Linked DNA regions of Homo sapiens: regions 1, 3 and 4 are each linked to region 2. The links are contacts of gene promoters, found by promoter capture Hi-C in blood cells and fetal thymus (Javierre and others, 2016). All regions are on one chromosome and are shown on one strand. Each heading gives the region's core, a stretch centred on a gene start or on the middle of the fragment in contact. The rest is flanking DNA. Distances are from core to core; before and after follow the strand shown.

Region 1 (2,700 bases), core at 188-2,687, 1.2 Mb after region 2:
TACAAAAATTAGCCAGGCGTGGTGGCACTCACCTGTAATCCCAGCTACTTGGGAGGCTGAGGCAGGAGAATTGCTTGAACCCAGGAGGTAGAGGTTGCAGTGAGTTGAGATCGCACCACTGCACTGCAGCCTAGGTAACACAGTGAGAATCTGTCGCAAAAAATAAAATAAAATAAAATCAATATCTTGTGTTTTAAATGTTGGAGTCTCCTCTTTCTCTAGAGTCTGTGGGAAGTTAAATTGCAGAGTACAACATTTCTTTAAAAGTCGAGTCCTATGCTGTAGAACAACACCAAAGACTGTTACTCATCTGATTGCCCAATTAAGAACCTGAGAGCGGAGTCTGAGAAAAATTGAACTAAATGCTGCTTTACCCACAGTTGGTTTCAAATGGACAGCAGCAAATGTGTCTCTTGTGTTTTTACCTGCAGAGGATATATTCCCTTGCAAGTCCTGTGGCATCTGGTATCGGAGTGAGCGGAATCTGCAGGCCCATTTGATGTACTACTGCAGTGGGAGGCAAAGAGAAGCTGCTCCGGTGTCAGAGGAAAATGAAGACAGTGCCCATCAGATTTCCAGCCTGTGCCCCTTCCCACAGTGCACCAAGAGCTTTTCAAATGCTCGAGCTCTAGAAATGCACCTGAATTCACACAGTGGTAAATGCCCCTTTTGTTTCTTCTGTTGCTCCAGAAGACTCTGTTATTTTTATAAATATATATGCATTACATGTATACGTCTATATCTGTCTATCTGTAGCTATCTATAACATCAAAATCAAACTTTCTGGGTCAACCAGTGTGATCTTATGCCACTTATACTCAGCATATGTTACTCAAAGGACTTGGGTCTGAATTCTTTTCTTACAAATTCAGAGGCCAAATCATTCTATTTGTTCTCAACTGAGGTTTTAAAAAAGCACATTATTTTAAAAAGAAAATCTCAATACCCTTTGAATATTGCCATTTATTGCTTTAGTGTCAAGCAATCTTTGGAAACTGATCATAGTGTTTCCTATATGGTAGGGAAGAAATAATAGGTACATAAATATAAGTGTGTGCTGAATTGAAATAAAGCTACTCTATTGATAGATCTAATTAAAATTACAGTTCAGGGATGTTTACTTTTAAATATGGATCAGTAAAATATTTCTGACTTCCAAAAGATGCATCATAACAGCTTAGGTGGTTTTTATGACATTAAACTACTTTTAGTACTATGTTTTAAAATCCCTTAAGAAAAAAATAGGCTGAAAAACAAATAAGCTTTTTAAGGCCCTCTCAATAGCAAGGTGGCAACTGTTTCTATTTAATTTGGAATTGTATGCCAGCTATTTTTAGTTTCATTTCATAGCATTCTAATTATCATATTTTTTAAAAAATGAATTTATTCAAATGTACAGAATTCTATTAACTTTAAATAATTTTAGGTACATTCTTACATGGGACAAACTAGGGACTGAGAATCATAGTTTTTCAGCACCTATAATACAAACCTTGTAGGACACCTCTGGGTGACTTTCTTAGTGGTCTTTGCCTAGATTAAATAATTTTAAAATGGAAACACATGTTGAGTTTTAAGCTACTGTTCTAACCTCCAGTGCTCTAGTACAGTTCAAGCTTTTGTCTTTGAACCTGTAAAAGTAGGTCATTTCCTTTCTGCTCATCCTCTTTCCTCTCCTTACAAATGAGCTATCTTCATATAGATAATAAAGCAGGGGAAGCAGAAACATATTGGTTGTCTCAGATGGTGAGTAAGGTCATGTACAAAACAAAAAGAACAGAATACAGGGGTCCTTTAAGCTAAATGGAAAAAAAAATGAGTATTAGATTCATTAAGGAGAAAAAGAGACAAGGATAGGTAGTCCCCTTTTATGACTACAGGACTAGGTACCTCTGCCATGTTTTCAGCTTATGAATATAAAAGGCAGTCTTATTCTAGTCCAGAGTACAGAGGGGATAAGCCAAGCCTGATTTTACCATATGCTGACCAATGGGAGCTAGAGTCAATCTTAGTGATGCTTACCCACCACAGTCAATGGTAATATTCAAAATATTTAATCATGGACTAGAAATAGGCAGTGATCAATCAGCATGGATGCCAATGCAAAATGACTATATTAGTGTACTGGTAGACTATATTAGTCTACCAGCTAAATATCAGCCCTGGATAGAGATAAACTATGTTCAGCAAAACTACTGCATAAAATTTTAAATTTATATTAATATAAATTAAGATTATATTAATTACTTTACAAAATGGTTTCTATTTGGCCTCTTTAGAATATAACCTATATGTAGTGTACTGAGAGTTATTTGATTTGCATTGTTTTCAATAGCAACCCTAATGAATGCTCACTTATTCCTAATGTAGAGGCTAATGTTATAGTGAGGTTATTAGATTAGTAATTATAAAATCCAAGGCTTAGGCATGGCTTCATCACTTAATAGCTTTATTAACATAATCAATTCCTTTAGCCTCCTTCAGCGTGTTTCCTCATCTATAAAATGGAGACACTGACACTTATTCCACTTTGATGCCATAATATTCATGAAAGTACTTTGAAAACTATAAAGTGCTATTAATATTATCATACACAGTAAGAGATGTCACAAGAAAACAGTTAATATCACGAATGAAATTTTGAAAGATTTCATTCCTATTGTGTTGCAAACATTAGGTCATTAGAAAAGGTCCCTGTCA
Region 2 (2,700 bases), core at 93-2,592:
ATGAACTAAGAACGGTGAAGTCAGAAGTGTAACTTAATTATCTTAAGAGATAGATGTTCTTTGCAATTAATTCCATTCAGCTCTTGCTCAGACCCCAACGCAATATAAAGCTGTCCGCACAGTCTTCAGCCTTCTCTTAACCCGAAAGGAGTTATCTCTAACCCGATCCATCGACTGGAATAAAGTAACAGTGACCACAGCGGCGGACGAGGATGGATGAAATTACAATTGAACTAGGAGTCAGGACAGATGTGTACACCCTAACAGGAGAGACTGAGGTGGGGCTGGAAACTATTTTCTGGCCTTCTCCCGCGTGCTGCTCCCGGGGAACCAACAGGACCCTGCACGCCCGGATTCGGCAGAGCCCTTGCCCCCGAGGTGGAGTGGGGAGAAGTCAGCGGGAAGCCTTTTCAGGGAATCGAGTAGGACAAGGGCTGGCGCGGTGGGAATCTCGCCGGTGAGAGAACTTCCTAACCCCGGGTTGAGGGGGCGGGGGGAAGGACCGTCCCGGCAGCGGCGGGGGCGAGCTCCTCTGCTTTCTCACAGTCAAGCATCTTTGTGTGTGGATTGTGCCAGGCTACGGGTCCTGGAGCAACTGGCCGCGGGGGCCCTCGAACCCAGGTCGGGAAGTCCGCCCGCCACCCCCTCGCTCCGCCGGGGCCCTCCCGGCCGGGCCCCCCAGCCCCTCTCCACCACCCGAGGGTCTGGAGGTGGACGAGTGGAGAAAAGCATCTCCGTGTGGGGACACCCGTTCCGCCACATCCACCCCCTCACCGGTCTTTGTCCCGCCGGTAGCCAGGGTCTCCGCGGGAGTCTCCAGGGGAACCCCCGTCCTGGAGGCCTCGGGGCCCGGGTCGCCTCAGCTTTGTTCGGTCAGCGGGGCGCGGGGACGCGGACACTTACCGTACACCCCAGCGAGGAAAAGCAAGAGCAACGCAGACCTCCACCGCGGAGACTCTTTTGTGCTCCAGCGACAGGCCATAACCACAGCAGATGGAGAGAGAGAGGAGGAGACGGAGGAGGAGGGAGGAGAAGCTGGAGGTAGACGACGCCGACGCCGCCGCCGCCGCCGCCGCCGCCGCCGAGCCACCGGCTGCTCCCTGCGCTCTCCGCGGCTGCGGGAGGGGGAAGGGAGGGGCCGCCGCCGCCCGCGCGCGCTCCCTCCTCCCTCCTCCCTCCGGCTCGCCTGCTCCCACCCCGGGCGGTGCGAGAGCCCCACGCGGGGCGGCCCTCCTGGGGGCAAGGGCAAGGAGCTCGCGCGCCAGCGCGAGACGAGAGGGTGGCGGACGCCGGACTCCGGCCTCGCGCCGCTCGGGCTAGCCGGCGCCGCCACTCGCCAGACTGAGCGCGCGCCCATCCGTGCGATCGGCAATCCCCTGGCCCGCCTGCCTCGGTTCCCTCCCCGCGCTCCGCTGGACTTTCCAAGTTTCGGGCCGATTTCCACGCGACGGGAGCCCAAGGAGCAAGGCAGCGCCAATCGATGACAGAGCGTGCGAACGCCGGCTGCTGGATGCCCAGGGGCTGGAGCGCGGGGTGTGTGGAGGAGCACGGTCGCTGTCCGAGGGCTGGGCTCTGGCCCAGCGGGTGGGGGGAGGGGGGGTGGGATACCAGCTGGGAGGCTGAAGGTGGTTCCGTGTTGGGGGAGGCGTGGATGGTCTGAAGCTGACAACTTGGGAGTTCCTTCCTCTATCCGGTACCCCCAAGTCTCCACTTGCTGTCGGCGCGGAGCTTCGAGTGGGGGTGGGCTCAAGTTAGTGCGGCCAACCTGGCAGCTGGTCGGTCAAGGGGCAGTGTGGACTCCCACGCTCAAGGTGCCCGGAATGAGTCGGGCAAGGCTTGTGCAGAGCCCCTCCAGTCTGGCGTGGAAGCGCCAAGAGGTCATTTGACATCTCACGCTGGGTCGGGTGCAGCTGGGCCAGGATGTTCGGCAGGGCTGGAGCCGACTTTCAGGGTAGATATATTGAAAGGAGGATTCGCCCATCACGCTGCAGTTTCCCTAAAGCTCTTTTCTCACTCCCAGCAAATGGGAGTCCTCCTTTACTTAGATCCCCAGAACACTTTTCTAAGTACGTCTGTAGTGACGCTGGCACATCAGACCTTACCCCCTGTGTTTTTAAAGCGTTTGTCTACAACGTCTTATTTATATTAGATTTTATCGTTGCCCTTTGCAAGCACTCTCCATGCTATTCATTGAAGACCTACACTGCATCATGCTGTCCTATTGACATAGGTTGTCACTTTTTAATCCCAAACATCCTTGTGAGATAAATATTACCCATGTTTTATAGAAAAGAGAGAAATTAAATTACTCATGGCAAGTAAGTTGTTTGAAACAGTTTTTCTCATTCCAAAGTAAAGATTGTTGCCCCTATACCACAGCAAACTCTCTAGCACAATGCTTAGCGCCTAGTAATGTGTCGGAGTTGGTGCCTGCCAGGGGGTTCGTGGTCTCCCTGACTTCAAGAATGAAGCTGCAGACCTTCCCGGTGACTGTTAACAGCTCTTAAAGATGGCACGGACTCAAAGAGTGAGCGGTAGCAAGGTTTATTGCGAAGAGCAAAAGGACAGCTTCCACAGCATGGAAGAGAACCCCAGGTGCTGGCTGGTGGTGGCCAGCTTTTATTCCCTTGTGGTCCCCTCCCATGTTCCATTTCTGTCCTATCGGAGTGCCCCTCTTTCAATCCTCCCTGCGATTGGCTA
Region 3 (2,700 bases), core at 103-2,602, 1.1 Mb after region 2:
TGAAAGTAAGACAGTTTTGATATTGAAAGCCCAGCCAATCAAAGACAGAAACTCATAACATGTAGACTTCTTGTTACTATTGGACTATTTAATTCCACGCTACTCATATTTAGGTCCCACTGCTACTCCCAATACCTTTGTCCACCAAGTGCTATTTCTGCCTTCAGTTCAGTGATGCCAATCACCTCCCATCACCTGGTTCTGCCTTACTGATAGATTTTACATGCACAAAGTTGTTTACTCTGAGCTCTTTGCTCCAGCGAGGGATTGCTGCTGAGAATAAAGTCTTCCCTAACCCCAGTGGTCTCTTTACGTTGTTCAGAGTGGATTGCCACGTGTTCCTGATGGCTTAACTCTCTTAATGCCTCTTCTGGACATTATTTTAATGGCTTCTTTTTAGGATGGCATATTTTAATACACACAGTATATTAAAGGCCTGAAGGAAACCGTAGAAGAAAACACCTCGTTCTGTCTAGAAGTCAAAGCGACACCTGAACTTTTTCTTTTTTCTTTTTTTTTTTTTTTTTTTTTACTGGCTACAGAATGAATGCTGCCTGAATGAGTAATGATTAGAAAGCGTTTGGAACTGTATTACCATAGGTGACAGCTCTGCAGAGATAGGCAGGTAATGTTAAGAGGCAAGGATAAGAGGCTATGACATTATGTCTGGAGGGTTAAGGACTCACAGTCAAAGCTTGAACTGCTATTACTGGATCAATACTTCTCAGTTCAACACTTATCTTGACTACTGGTTAGAGGCTTTTGTAGATATGAACACTGAGAGAGCAAAATAAAACTGAAAAAAATGATTGTTGCTGTTCACTTACATGTGGATTGCTGAAGTTATTTAGGCTTCAGATCCACAATTCCTTTTTCATGGGGCAAACTCCAGTGACCTGAAAGCAGGATAAAAACCACCAAGTTATGAATTGTAGTGTGTTCTCCCTTGTCCTTTCCCTTATTTTTTTTCAAAAAGAAAGTGAAACCACTTCTCCTTTTTCCACTCCATGCCAAATCCTGCTTGGATTTCCTTGTACCATACTATACAGTTTCCTCTGCTTGATAAAACAATATTTGCCCATTGTGATTACACTATTCAAGGTTAAAACTCTTGAAAATCAACGAGAAGGAAGCATGCTATAATATCTGTGCTATTTGGATAAGCAGAAAAGAAATATTGCATTGAATTGAAAGGCACAATGAACAGTCTCTGGATTGTGTTACATAGAAGTTAGGGCTCATATGTCCTTCTACATGTAAGACATATTTGTATTCCACATATAATAATGAATTGAATGAACTAAAAGTTTCTGAGCGAACTTTGTTGCTAGGTTAACATCTTATGATTACTGTAAATAGAAAGTTTATAATATAGAGGGGGAGCTTCAACCTCCAAAAAATGATGAATGAACAATCAAAAGAGACACTATTCATGAAATCTAAAGGAATTTGTTGTAAGTTCAATTTTCAGAATGTATTGTAATTTAATGTCCAGATTTTAAAAAATCACTTTGCATGTTTGTACCATGATGACAAATCATTTTGAAAATCAAAGGAAAATGATGTCATATGAATAAGTGTTGCAACTAATAAGAACTATTTAAGCTAAGATGTCTGTTTGTTGCTTGTATCTTCCTGCTTAGTTTATTGAATAGCAAAGTGTGGAAGAATGATGAAACAGTGCATAACTGATGGAGAATTGTGACCTTTTACTAATAAGGTATACTAAATGAACTTTATGGAGCTGAGTGTTTTTGGTAGGCTGTGGCAAAAAGATATGAGAGGGTTTAGTTCCTTTCCCAAAGTTCTGAAGTTAATCCCCACTATACAGTGTAATTTAATGTTTTCTGCCTACAACAAAAATGGCAGCTGTCCCCCTATTTGAAATAGCATTCGTATGATCACTACATATTCATATTCCTATGCATACGTTATCACTTAAAAGGCTTTCTAATTACAACAACAAGACAAAAACTTCTTGGATTCTTTCCAGACTCACTAAATGATAAAATAAGCTTGTACTCTCTCCTTCTTAATCTCCTTAAAGCACCTTGGAGCCTCATCTCCGAAATACATGCGAATGAATGTGAAAATGCCATTTAGAGATGCAGGTGTGACATTTGATAAGAAACTTCTGGATTAAATATGTTCTGCTAATGAGGATCCCAGCTACCCCCATCAGGGCTAACTATTGGTTGGATTGTGTGTGAGCTGATAACATTCCACATGCGAACATTCAAATTCATTATTAATAAACAGCCCAAGTCTCTATCAGAAAAGTCTGGATCCTTTAGCAAGTGAGGGATGTTGCTTCTCATTAGGAGAAGACATCAAATCTTCCAGAATTTAGCAATTTCATTTTTGGAACCAATTTCTAACAGTGTATTAATGGTGCATTGAAAATCTGAACAAAGCCTTCATACTTTTTATTCATTTTGTAAATTACAGTAATCTAGGGAGGTCTGACTAAGCTACTGGAGCAATGGGCGGTAAAGACATTGGACTGAAGCATTGCAGTTCTAATGATTCCTTTATGATTAAACGTTTATGGAGAAAAAATTCATCCTAGGAGAGGGAAATTAACTTTCAGCTTGCACGTTCATTATCTTTGATACCAAAATGGAATGCAGCTTCTTGTTGTTAAAGTTTCAATCTTTTATTTTTAATTCATACATATTAAAGGCAGCCTTATAAAACAAA
Region 4 (2,700 bases), core at 89-2,588, 1.2 Mb after region 2:
TGTGTTTTCTAGGGCCAATACCTTCTGGGACAATACCTCAAGCAGGTGATTTTTTACAATCTGCCCTAGTTAAAGCTTCCAGGAAAGAGTTCTTGCCATTCCAAGTAAATAATTATGAGAAGAGAGTAGAACTAACATTTTTGAAGTGACTATTCTGTGTTCAACCTTGTGCTATGTCCTTCATGTAAAGTGATCTTATACAACAATCATCTTCCAATACACAGGATAATCCCCATTTTCCAGATGAGGAAACTGTGTCTCAGAAGGATTAAGTAGATTGTCCAAGGTCACATAGATGCTAAATATTTATAGTTGAGTTCCTTACCCAGATCTGTCTGATTTTTAAAAGGCCACTTCTTTGCATTATATGGGGATGATTATCTTTAGTAGCCTGGCAAATGGAGTAAGATCATAAGTGGGCTTGGTGATTTACTAAGGGTTTGGAAGCTGTTTTTCATATCTAAAAAAAGATGGGATCATAAACATCATGGTCCTAAGAACATGTAGAGCCTACCTACCCAGCAGCCAATTAGCATAGCAGAGAAGCTTTTATTAATGCAGAAAATCTGCTCTTCCCAGAAACTGAATAGTAAACTAATTACTTTCAGGATCTGGAAATGGGAGCATACTACAACTTGAGTAGGATATTTATTTTATTGACCACATTTTCAGCCTGTTGTGTTTTTCCAGTCATTTAAAGATTAATTGGTAAGTATCCAGGACTCTCTTTGATCCTTTAGAACTATAATCATGAAACCCAGGGAATAGATAGAAGTGCAATTAATTGCCTTGTGATACATGAACCAAACTTTAAAATTGTAGGATTTTGGTGGTAAAGCTAGATCAAGGTTTAAAACTCTCTCTCTCTTTCTCTCTCTCTCTCTCTGACACACACACACACACACACACACACACACACACACACATATTTGGAAATACTCAAAATCAAATTATTCCAAAAATTAATTTGCAGAAGCAATGTTTGCTGAATACACTCAGGATTTTTATAGAAAATTTTCTTCTATTTTCAGTAGAATGTTAATAGATATTTTCTATTATCCTTATTATGACTTTTTTACTTCCGTTTTTCAATAATTCACTGAATCAATACTTTTATTTAGTCAGTGTTTTCTTTTTAGAAAAAAAAATCTTCCATGGATTCAAAAAATGTTGTAATAAGTTTGATTGTATTCAAGAATGTGAAAGGAGTAACTGTTTCATTCTTAGACCTTGACTCGATTATATTTCCCTTGCAAAGTGAAATGTGTTTTTTCATGATTTTTTTTTCTTTTAGTTTCATGGTTCATTGCTATACTTGATGCGATTTCAGGGTAATTTTATACAATTTTGTAAATGACTTAAGTGATGTAATGTACTGAAATACACAGTAAGGTGTTTTAGAATCTGTCATTTTCATTTAGAAGAAAAAACACCAAGTATTTGATAAGCATTTGAAAAGAAGTCCAATTCAGAACCCCTAGTGTGCAGAGAAGTTTGATTTACCTGTCTCCACCTCTCTTCCTTTCCTTCAGGCAAACATGGGCTCTAGCTTTCAGAATTCATAATGACCTTTGATTTAAAACAGTTAGTACTAAGTCCTCTGTTTCATTTAAGAGCAAAATTCTTAGATTTCAGGACCACGTGGTCAGTGTACAATATGTCACTTTATTTCCCCCACTGAACATAGTTGATAACAGGCTTTATTTTGTTTTTATTTTAGCATAAACTATCCTTTAGAGGTCCTGAATCATTTAATATGAATTTTGCTGTAAAAATCACAGTACTTATCATTTGGGGGTTCTATATTTCTTAGTAAAATCCTAGTTAACTACCAGTGCTTTTAAATTTTGTAAAATAGCACAAATACTAGTTTTAATCTAGTACGTAAAATGGGTTGTTTAGAATCCATATTTCTTTTCATATTTTTTCATATCATTCAAGCCACTGTCAATTTCCCCTTAATAAAGCTGATCTTCAGTTCTGCATTTAGCCACAGTATGCCAGTACAATTTACATTTTGATTCACCGTAAAATTCTAACTTTTCATATTATTTCATTCTAGAGTTCCAGTCGCTTTATTTAATAGATTGTCCTTTGATCTCTGGAGACAATTGCATTTTACTTCTCTAATGAAGCTTGTATGAATATAGCCAAAGTGAGTGTTGCACCAAATGGTAGAAGAAATCCGAAGAGAAGCATGCCCTTCTCTATGGAGGTTGGAAAATGCAGCATAATTCGTTTTTGAGAGTTATCAGGCAGCTCGTCCCCAAATCCCTATTTCATGCCATTATTTTGTTTAGCATTTTAAGGCATTTTGTAATAGTAACATATTTTCAAGGTTCTCTGACTTACTTCTAGCAATCGGTTCAATAAGTTAATATGCTCTTTATACAGCAGATAGATAGGTTTTACAATAGGAAAAGAAAATGGTATGCCAAGTGGCCTCTTGTTTCTGAAATTTTTGGCAAATATTTTTGTCCTCTAATTTGTACTTTAATAATTTGTCACTGGCATTTCTGGAAATTGTTTTTCAAGGGGCCTCATGTAGTTTACTCAACAATAAGTAAAAATTTAGCTAAAATCTCGCTGGTTAAACTGAATGTGAAAACAGTCAGTGATTTAAAACTATACTCTGTTATGTGGTTTGAGTGTTGTATTTATCTTTATGGCCTTTATCTTCATAGTTTTATCTATTTTGAG

The links. Contacts are between HindIII fragments. The CHiCAGO score rates a contact against its expected background, and 5 or more counts as called.
Region 1: a contact is called between a fragment that was not itself captured here and the fragment with the promoter of LRP12 in region 2, in 1 of 17 cell types (fetal thymus). The highest score is 7.7, in fetal thymus.
Region 3: a fragment that was not itself captured here is called in contact with the fragment with the promoter of LRP12 in region 2 in 1 of 17 cell types (M1 macrophages); the score reaches 6.8 in M1 macrophages.
Region 4: a fragment that was not itself captured here is called in contact with the fragment with the promoter of LRP12 in region 2 in 1 of 17 cell types (M2 macrophages); the score reaches 6.7 in M2 macrophages.

The regions. Positions count from the first base shown.
Region 1 is chr8:105,798,293-105,800,992 of GRCh38, forward strand. It overlaps ZFPM2 (zinc finger protein, FOG family member 2), which reads left to right. Exons shown (of 8, transcript NM_012082.4): 7 at 432-656. It overlaps ZFPM2-AS1 (ZFPM2 antisense RNA 1), which reads right to left. Exons shown (of 5, transcript NR_125797.1): 3 at 33-150. Among named protein-coding and RNA genes, the nearest start is that of ZFPM2-AS1, 260 kb to the right of the region's middle. The HindIII fragment of the contact is 354 bases long and covers 1,261-1,614 here.
Region 2 is chr8:104,587,916-104,590,615 of GRCh38, forward strand. LRP12 (LDL receptor related protein 12) reads right to left here and starts at 1,343. Exons shown (of 7, transcript NM_013437.5): 1 at 904-1,343. The coding sequence starts at 982. RefSeq lists silencers at 502-611, 1,042-1,381. The HindIII fragment of the contact is 14,799 bases long and covers 1-2,700 here.
Region 3 is chr8:105,730,267-105,732,966 of GRCh38, forward strand. The region is part of intron 5 of ZFPM2 (zinc finger protein, FOG family member 2); the gene reads left to right. Among named protein-coding and RNA genes, the nearest start is that of ZFPM2-AS1, 330 kb to the right of the region's middle. The HindIII fragment of the contact is 1,321 bases long and covers 693-2,013 here.
Region 4 is chr8:105,763,401-105,766,100 of GRCh38, forward strand. The region is part of intron 5 of ZFPM2 (zinc finger protein, FOG family member 2); the gene reads left to right. Among named protein-coding and RNA genes, the nearest start is that of ZFPM2-AS1, 300 kb to the right of the region's middle. The HindIII fragment of the contact is 1,589 bases long and covers 545-2,133 here.